Linked DNA regions of Homo sapiens: region 1 is linked to region 2. The links are contacts of gene promoters, found by promoter capture Hi-C in blood cells and fetal thymus (Javierre and others, 2016). All regions are on one chromosome and are shown on one strand. Each heading gives the region's core, a stretch centred on a gene start or on the middle of the fragment in contact. The rest is flanking DNA. Distances are from core to core; before and after follow the strand shown. Region 1 has its middle 27 kb from the start of PLAGL1. Region 2 holds the start of FUCA2 (alpha-L-fucosidase 2).

Region 1 (5,028 bases), core at 26-2,525, 520 kb after region 2:
GACACTATATCGGGGCAATAGACATGTGATAGATAATTCTATATGGCATGATAAGTGATGATGAAGGACCACATGCTATTATGGACACACAGATTTAGGTCACTTAGCTGAACTCAGTAGTAGAGCCCAAGTTTCTAGAAGAAATTATTCATTAGATGAATTTTAGAAAACAGGACATCAGCAAATAAACAAAATGGGAAGAGCATGCTAGGTAAAGGTCATACCACAAGAAGTGCGCAGATATGTGAGTGACATGAGGACTACTGCCTGTAATTGCTAAAGCCTGGAATATACAAAGAATGGTGAGAGACGATGTCAGAGCTACTGCAGGGTCAGCTTGGACTTTTTACCTACAGACCTAGGGCATAATAAATACCAGGTTTAAGCCACTAAGTTTGTAGTAATTTGTCAGGGCAGCAATAGAAAACTAATATGAACTTTGCTGCCTGGAAGTGGTGTGCTGTTGTAACAAATATCTAAAAATGTGGAAAGCCTTGGAATTGGGGAGTGGGTAGAAGCTGGAAGAATTCTGAGAAACATGATGGAAAAACCTAGATTGTCTTCAGCAAACTGAAATACAGACAGGAAAGGTGGTACCAGTGAGAGTTCAGAAGGAAATGAGGAACACATTACTAGAAACTGCAGTAAGGATGATCTTTGTTATATACTAGTAGAAAGCTTAGTGAAATGTGTCCTGTAGTTATGTGGAAAGCCAGAAGTGTAAACAGTGGACTGGGATATTTAGCTAAAGAGATGTCCAAGTTTAGAACTGATCAGGTAACTTAACTACATGCCAGAACAAAGTCCAACACTATTTAAAGGAATAAAACAAAATCCAGCATAAAACAATGTAAAATCACAAGGTCTACCTTCACATCAAAAAATTATCAGGCATGCAAAAAAGCAGGAAGATATGACCCATAACTAGAGAAAAAAATCTGTCAAAAGAAATGGTCTTTTCTAAGTCTGAGGTAATGAGACTTGAACATAAAAGCAGCTATTATAAATGTGCTCCAAACACTCAAGAATGTAGAAGAACCCAAATAGAATTGCTAGAGATGAAAGATACACTATGCAAAATCAAAAACACATGGATGCTTTTACTACACTACAGACATGGTCTCCATGTAGTACATATAAAACTGCAGACTTCAATTTTCCTGGAGTCTTTTATACTGTTAATTACATCTCCATGCAGGGCTGAAAAGAATGACCTGTGTTTACATGTAAAACCACGTTGTTGGAGGAGGGGGTGCCCCAGCTTAGCGAACCCCAGCCTCCCTCCTGGGGTGCCTCATTCCAGGGCTCTTCCATCTTTCTCTAGCTGCCAAGGCCCAGGCTGACAACCCCCCAACCACACCACACCCTCTGGACTGAAGCCTCTAGGCCCCAGATTGCTGACTCAGGCTGCTGGGCACACAGCCCCCAGGCTGACTGGAAGACGGGGCTCACTGCACACTCATCCCAAGGGCAGTGACTTAAGCCTCTCCAGTTTTCCTGTTAACTAAGTAAGCCTCAAGTCCTTTTAGTGTTTGTTTCTCTTCAAGAAAATAAAACACTTATTTGTTTCCTTTGTATCCTCCTCTCATTCAGGGGGTTCAATAAATCATCTGCCAGAAAGGAAGTGTGCAGCTAATTCAGTCCTCCAGCAAAGAAAAGTGGGAGGCCCCGACAAATTGTCATTATGCAATAATGAACCTTGGACAGCCAAAATTTCATCTACAATATCAAACATGGAACTTAACTTTGGAGTTTATTTTATTCTAAAAATCAGGTTTTCCCCCTAGCTTTTAAGATTGAAAAAAAAAATCTTCCTTGGAGGGGACTGTCATCTTACATAGCTGACAGTAATTTTCAGATTTGTGGAGTTTTGCAAGCTTTAAGCAAAGTAGATGAACCAGGAACAAAGCATCAGCTTTGTTTAACATCACTGAGTAGACTAATACTCCTCCCAGAGCCTGATCTAGGACTACAGCTGAAGGCTTTCAGGTTTGGACAAAAATCTTTGAGTATTAACTTGGAAATAAGGTAAATTGATGGATGGGTATGTAATACATTGAGAACAGTTAAATGTTAATGATAGAATCTAGTGGTGGGTATAAGGGCATTCACTGTAAAATTCAACTTTCCTGTACATTTCAAAGTTTTTCATACTAAAATGTTTCAGGGGGTTGGGGGTATATTAGGGTTATCTAGAGACACATAACTAATAGGATAGATGTATATATGAGAGGGAGTTTATTAAGGAGAATTGACTCACACAATCACAAGGTGAAGTCATACAATAGGCCTCCTGCAAGCTGAGGAGCAAGGAAGCCAGTGGTAGATCAATCCAAGCACCAAAAACTCAAAGATAGGGAAGCTCACAGTGCAGCCTTCAGTCTATGGCCAAAGGCCCGAGAGCCCATGGAAAACCACTGGTGTAAGTCCAAGAGTCCAAAAGCTGAAGTACTTGGAGTCTAATGTTCAAGGGCAGCAAGCATCTAGCACGGGAGAAAGATGAAGGCCGGAAGACTCAGCAAATCTGCCCTCCCATCTTCTCCTGCCTGCTTTATTCTAGCCGTGCTGGCAGCTGATTAGATGGTGCCCAACCAGACTGAGGGTGGGTCTCCTCACCCAGTCCACTGACTCAAATGTTAATCGTCTTTGGCAACACTCTGACAGAGATGCCCAGGAACAATGCTTTGCATCCTTCAATCTAATCAAGTTGACATTCAATATTAACCATCACAGGGGGCAAGAGGCTTTGTGTCAAATCCCTGTTGCTATGAGTGGTGAGACTAGAACAAAATGCCCAATACTCAAATTACCTCATTTTCTTGTTTTTTCTTCTTTTTGCCTCTAGATATGATACCTCATTTTTTTAATATGTGTAATGTAGATCATTACTGATCTCATATGGTTGATGAGAAAAATGACAATGTCAAGAACATTTCTGGCACTACTAGAGGCCCTCAAATCAAGGGTAGCCACCTGGTGGGGCAAAGAAACGCAGTTCAGGGATCACTGGAGTGGGCTGGTGAGAAACTTCTTTAAGGAGGTGGAGGAGCAGGGGCATTTCTGGGTTTTATTGTGCCTGGATGGCCATCTGATTACGTGTGGCTTAGCCTGGAAACCCTCAATGCAGGACTCCAACCCCAAGAAAGTGCTTCAAGGACACCCCAGGTGGACCCAGAGGGCAGCTACAAGCCGACTTTTATGCTCTGCCTCCAGAATGACTCCTTCCAATGCTCACTAATGCTTAGGGGCCTGAGGAGAAGTCTTTTATGCCCAGAAATGACAACCACTTCCTCTGACTCTAAGAACAGTCCATTTAGGCTATTTCATCTTTGCCAGTTTCATTTTAGGAAACACAAGCCTTATAACACAATCCTGAGGAAATCAGCTGTGAAATACACAGACTTTGTGCAGAGAAGTGGTGCAAGTGTGCAATGCTTCAGTCTTAGTGACTGAAGACAGCCAGCCCACATGCCCAGTACCAAAGGGGCACATGCTCCACACCAAATGGGCAAAAATTCCACAGCCGAGCCTGCCCAGACAAGGGGACCCGCTACACAACTCCACACCCTCAGCACTTTGTGACAGGACAATTACTGCCGCGTGACAGGACTCCAGTCCTGGGGCTGCTACCGGGTGCAAGTGACATGCTGGAAAGAGCGTGGTAGACATCTAGGGGCCAACTCTAGGAACATGTGTTTCTTATTCAGAATAGCTTTTTGTTTTGTTTGTTTTAACTTGTGAGGCTTCTTCACTACTCAGGGACGAAAGAAAGAGGAAAGAATGGAAAAAGTGAAACTACAGAACAGAAATTGTGCAACTTCCAGAAAACTGCTCTAAGACAAGCAAGAAGGCAGACCTGCTAAATGCCCATTATGACACTATTTGACTAAACAGGTTTGAAATACTCTGGCATAAAATGAAGGCCATCCCCTAATGGTTTGTTCTTGGTGTTGGACAAATCATAAAAGGACCAGACATTGCTGTGATGAATTATATGCCCTGGAGAGAGGCAGAAAGTGATTACACCACCTTCATTTGCACATGGAAAGGAAAACTAAAGGTAGTATCTTAAATCTTTCCTTCGCACAGTCTGCTTGCCTCTTGTCACAGAGCACGCCTGCGTGTCTCTAAAAGCATGTGATATTTTAGTGCTTTAATTAAGTATACATGTAAAGGCAAGAGTCCACCTGATACAACACTGATTTTTGAGACTGAATTTTATGCTGTGACCAGAGGACCACTGAACCATTTAAACAGAAAGACACCATGACAGACAACTCTCTAAAACAGAGCTAATCACTACCTAAAAGAGAAGTTTTAAAAAGATGAGAAGCCATGTGACAAGTCATATCAGAATGCAGTTTTAGGCCAGGCACAGTGGCTCACATCTGTAATCCCAATATTTTGGGAGGCCAACGTGGGACAATAACTTGACCCCAGGAATTCCAGACCAGCCTGGACAACACGGTGAAGCCCCATCTCTACCAAAAAAAAAAAAAAAAAAAAAAAATAGCTGGGTGTGACAGTGTGCACCTGTAGTCCCAGCTACTTAGGAGGCTGAGATGGGAGGATTGCTTTTGCCCAGAAGTTCGAGACTGCAGTGAGCTATCATATGATTGTGCCACTGCACTCGAGCCTGGGTGACAGAGCAAGACTCCATTTCTAAAAAAAACAAAAACAAAGCAGTTTTAGAAGATATTTTAAAGAAAAATGATCATGATGGTGACAGTTTCATTTCTTTTAAGGAATACAATGCATATCAACATTATGAACTATGTTTTTTATTTCTATATTTTCTTAGATATTTACTGTCTTTGTTTACAAAATAGTCACTTTCACAAAAAAACCCAAACCCAAACTACTGCTTTTGATGTTGTGCTATTGTACATAGAAATGTACACAGTAAGGTTCTGCAATGAAAAGCACGTACTCTTGAGACTTAGTACTGCTTTGATTCATTGTTCAGGCTACAATTTCCCCCCTTAGAATGTAAGAAAAGTTAGCGCTTGTCGCCAATAAATGGTAATA
Region 2 (5,094 bases), core at 614-3,113:
TGCAGGTAGTCAATTTCTTTGTCATGAAAGGGTTAAAATATGCTATTTTGGCACATTTTTAAAGGTAAAGAAACTCGAAAAATAGCAGGTGCATGAAGAGCACTTTGCCCTTTGTGCTGTTTCTTAGGAGAGAAGATGAAATTCCAGTATGAAAGGCACTCTGTACTAGAAGGAAAGGCAACATCCTAAGCTTCAAAGACAAGAAGTAGAATACTGTACAGAACTTGCTAAAATTTATTATTTAAGTCTCCCCACATAATTTAGTCACACAATGTCAATTTAATTCTTGGACCCAGCAGAGACCCTAACAGAATGGAGGTGTAATTTTTCTACCCCTAGAGTAGAGCATGGTACCATGTATACTATGTAATGTTAATATAATATATAGTTCATACTCTGTATTGTGTCTACTAAATATAGTATGTTAATTTGGATGTATACTATTTATGTAGTATATAGTTGATTCAAATAAATACTGTTTAATGATTCCGTTCTTTTACTTAAGAATATATTATGTGTCCCAAAGTCCTGGAATTACAGGTATGAGCCACCGCGGATCACCTGAGGTCAGGAGTTCAAGACCAGCCTGGCTAACATGGCAAAACCCCGTTTCTACTAAAAAATACAAAAAAATTGGCCAGGCATGGTGGCGTGCGCCTGTAGTCCCAGCTACTCAGGAGGCTAAGGCGCGAGAATCGTTTGAACCCGGGCGGCGAAGGTTGCAGTGAGCCGAGATGGTGCCACTGCACTCCAGCCTGGGTGACAGAATGAGACTATGTCTCAAAAAAAAAAAAAAAAGAATATATTATGTGTATGTTTCTATATATGCACACAAAATATTTCTGTTTTGAAGGACTTAATACTTGTAGCATTTAGTCAGAAAAGACATGTGCAACAGTTTAAGAAATTACATGCACATTTTCACATAGATCTCAAGGTAAAATCTAACGCACAGATTTTTGTGTAGCACCTTTCATACGGCAGTATGATAACTGGGTTGTGTTAAGAGTACCATTCTAGAACCTCTTTAAAAAGTTCCTAGAGCCACACATGGGTAACATGTTAACATTAAGTAGCCAATGGTGTTCAATGAACAGTCGTTTCACATACTCATGACTATGTTTTAACCATAACTTCATGGCAGAACGACTGTAAATTGGCAGGTAGCAGCAGAGCAACCATAGGCCATTGTGCCTGAGTCACCGCTCGTGTGATGCCCCTGCACAAACTGATGAATGTCTGTAGTAGCTCGATGTTGTAGTGTCATAACTACAGCTTAATATGCGCAACTATGAAGAAGCTGAGGAGTCAGGAGTATCTGAAAACTCTTACAGTCACACGGAAGAAAAATTCCCTGTTCATCCAGCAGAAGCACTTAGGCAGGAAACCACATATTCGACACCCGGAAGTGCGAAACGCGGGTAACGCAGTGGGAGGTGAAACCGACGAGGGTGCAGGCAGCACCAGGCGGCGAACCAGGCCCGCTGGGTGGTGGCTGGAGGCTGCGGGTGGGGACAAAAGCGCGGCAGACGAGACAAAAGGGAGCGCACTCACCAGAACCACTCGCTACCGAAGCTGGGCACGGAAAACACTCCCCAGTGGATGAAGATGCCGAACTTGGCCTGGTCAAACCACGCGGGCAGCTGGCGGGCGTCCAGGGACTCCCAGGTGGGGTCGAAGCGCGTGGCGCTGTGGGCAGGGCACGGCGGCGGCGGCAGCAGCAGCAACAGCAACAGCAGCAACGGGAACGCGAGCCTGGGGAGCTCCTGGGGCCGCATGTCCCGGCGCAGGCCGGCTGTCCTCTCTGCAGGCTCCCGCGGCCTCGGGAGCGCTGTTCTTCCGTCTCTGCCGCTGAGTATGCCGCGCCGCGGTCACCTGACCAAGTCGGACTTGGAAACCGGCCACCCTTCCCCCTCTGGGGCGGGAGTGGCCACTCTCCCGGGCGTTCCGAATGACCTCAGGAGGGCTGCATCGCTCAGCATAACTAAGGCCAGCATTACCCCAAAGCCAGCTGGGACGGCTTTGCTAAGGCTCTGTCCTCTTGAGGGGAAAATATGAGTCTGAGTCAGGGCCTTGTGGCCAGCGCCTCTGCCCTCAAGCAGACACGACCCTGACCAAGAAACTGCCCAAGAAGACAATGCCCCCAGCCCACCCTGGTGGCTGCTCCACACGTCCGAAGCGTGCACGAGAAGGTCAAGGCAGGAACTTCAGCCGGGTCTCGCCATGATGGAACATGGAAAGCAACCTAGATCCTTCTCGGCCTCTGTATCAGCTCCCAAGATCCTGCATGTTAGAACCGTGGTTGTCAACCTTGAATTTGTATCAGATGAAATTCCAAGAGCTTCAGATTCAGCAGTTAGGTTGGGGCCCAAGAATTTGCGTTTCTACCCAGTTCCTACTTCTAGGATGTTCTGATGTTGGGCCGGGCGCGGTGGCTCACTCCTGTAATCCCAACACTTTGGGAGGCCGAGGCGGGCGGATCACAAGGTCAGAAGATCGAGACCATCCTGACTAACACGGTGAAACCCCGTCCCTACTAAAAATACAAAAAATTAGCGGGACGTGGTGGCGGACGCCTGTAGTCCCAGTTACTCGGGAGGCTGAGGCAGGAGAATCGCTTGAACCCGGGAGGCAGTTACAGTGAGCAGAGACGGTGCCACTGCACTCCAGCCTGGGCTACAGAGTGAGACTCCATCTCAAAAAAAAAAAAAAAAAGAAAGAAAACAAAATTGTGATGTTTCTGATTGGTGGTCCAAACTTTCCTGAGAACCACTGCATTGAACAAGGAGATGATCTGAGACAGGTGAAACCAGTGGAATGAATGTTTAAGAAACCTGCAAGCTTGGGAAAAAAGGCCAGCAACTTGGAAAGATTAATCAAAAGGATATTTGGGAAGCTTATCACCTCCACCTCTTGTTTGGTTTGTTTGTTTGTTTGTTTGTTTGTTTGTTTGTTTGTTTTTGAGACAGAGTCTCGCTCTCTCGCCCAGGCTTGAGTGCAGTAACATGATCTAGGCTCACTGCAGCCTCTGCCTCCCGGGTTCAAGGATTCTCCTGCCTCAGCCTCCAGAGTAGCTGGGACTACAGGCACATGCCACTGTGCCAGACTAATTTTTGTATTTTTCTTTTCTTTTTTAGTAGAGACAGGGTTTCACCATGTTGGACAAGCTGGTCTCAAACTCTTGACCTCAGGTGATCTGCCCGCCTTGGCCTCCCAAAGTGCTAGAATTACAGGCATGAGCCACCAAGCCCAGCCTCTCCTCCACCTCGTAAGTGTTTTCAAAGTAAAGCCAGAATCCTCAACTGCTTCTGCCCCCATGAAATCATTACCCTTCAATGAGCCAATTCAAATGCTGCTTCTTTTGTGAAGCTTTCTGCCACCACCCTTCCCTCCCAGAATGTTGTACTTTCCCTGATCTGCTTCATAACACCTCCTTCCAAGCACACATAGGATTTCACGCATCCTCTAGTAGCTAGGTGGTACAGGTCTGATTTCCCATCAGACTGTGAGCTTTTTGAGGGCATTCATAATGACCTTCTTTTCTGTAGTGCCTACAATTACAGCAGAAAAGCAGCACTCAAAATGTTTGTTGAAGCTCTCCAGTGAACTGGGGTTCTAATTATTGAGTGAAGAACTTGACACTAAGTGGCTGTTGCCTGCATTATCCCAACCCATCTCTGCAGAGAGATGGGAGCAGCAGAGGGCGCTGTCACTGCAGGTGTAGGGGCATTTTTCCTCTCCATGACATGCCAGATGGCCCCCCGGGGCCACAGCTCCACCGTAAGAGTCCCCAATTTTGTTTTGTTTTTTTACAGTGAGGGTGTTCTAGAGGAAAGGGCTCAACGAATCCAATTGCAATAGCTCCAGTTTGTGATAAAGATGACAATTTTTTTTTATTTGAGACAGAGTCTGGTTCTGTTGCCCAGGCTGGAGTGCAGTGGCACAGTGTTGACTCACTGCCACCTCCACCCCCGGGGATTCAAGCAATTATCGTGTCTCAGCCTCCCGAGTAGCTGGGATTACAGACCCCAACCTCCAGCTAACTTTTGTATTTTCACCATGTTGGCAAGGCTGGTTTTGAACCCCTGATCTCAAGTCATCCTCCTGCCTCAGCCTCTCAAAGTGCTGGGATTACAGGCATGAGCCACGGTGCCTGGGCTGACAAATATTTATTATTGAGTTTGTGGAACCCAGAATGATCTAGGGCCTCAGTGGCCACTGAACCCTGGGGCACACTTGAACAAAAATATGGGCTTCTCAGCCACTATGCCTTGACATCCTCTCTAATCAGAAGTTTGTGTAATAAGTGCAAAAGACAATATTCACAGTGACAATGATACTGTGAACTGCCATAGGGAGAGTAGACATGACTGTGGTGACAATGCAGCGGCAGCAGGACCCTGTCCTCTCATAAGTGGGCATCCTTTCCCCATGTGAACACCACATAGCAGAAACGCCCATCTTCCAAAGCCCTTTTATCATGTTATGAATTATTTACACTTCCATATATTTCAGTTAAAGAGTGGTAATCAGATCTGTATGGATGCCACTTGGGTCATTTGTCATTTCACTTGAAGGCAAAGAAATGTTTTTAACTGGTAAGTACAACCTTATCATAAAAGTCTATTTTCTGTAAGAAATACTGAAAATATATTAAAGACCTCCCTTAGTGCCCTTCAGGACACATAAGAATCCTAATATACCAGGTTGGGAACCATTGCTATAGGATTTGAAAGGAATAGTAAATAGTATTATCTGAAAGTGAAGAGGAAGAAGAGATTCTACTTAAAAATATTTGTTAAATGACTGAAAGAAATAAATCTATGAAGTCGTTTAGAACATGGTCCTTTAGGGAAAGACCTGCCTGCTGTAGATTCCATTCACATTTTATACGTTTGTAATGCCTTACAAAGCTAGTCTTTGCACTTAAAGCTACTGCTAACTGAGCAATAGAATCACACCTCATAAGGCTTAAACTGTGTATTTAAAGGTTTTGATAGGGGATCCAGAAATCTGAGTGAAACCCTGGGTTCTGCAGGTACACATGGCTCATGTATAAGGCATTTGAAGGGCTTGTGGCCTTGATGGGGAACA

What was found. The method cuts DNA at HindIII sites, captures the fragments that hold promoters and counts their contacts. A CHiCAGO score of 5 or more calls a contact.
Region 1: a contact is called between a fragment that was not itself captured here and the fragment with the promoter of FUCA2 in region 2, in 1 of 17 cell types (M0 macrophages). The highest score is 6.4, in M0 macrophages.

The regions. Positions count from the first base shown.
Region 1 is chr6:144,032,930-144,037,957 of GRCh38, forward strand. It overlaps a transcript of PLAGL1 not described here and the pseudogene LOC100131041. Among named protein-coding and RNA genes, the nearest start is that of PLAGL1, 27 kb to the left of the region's middle. RefSeq lists an enhancer at 3,632-3,681. The HindIII fragment of the contact is 1,199 bases long and covers 677-1,875 here.
Region 2 is chr6:143,509,857-143,514,950 of GRCh38, forward strand. FUCA2 (alpha-L-fucosidase 2) reads right to left here and starts at 1,864. Exons shown (of 7, transcript NM_032020.5): 1 at 1,555-1,864. The coding sequence starts at 1,778. LOC105378035 (a long non-coding RNA gene) reads left to right here and starts at 1,929. Exons shown (of 4, transcript XR_007059796.1): 1 at 1,929-2,920; 2 at 3,138-5,094. RefSeq lists a silencer at 1,097-1,300 and enhancers at 1,501-2,163, 1,723-1,852, 1,963-2,142, 2,164-2,824. The HindIII fragment of the contact is 2,651 bases long and covers 189-2,839 here.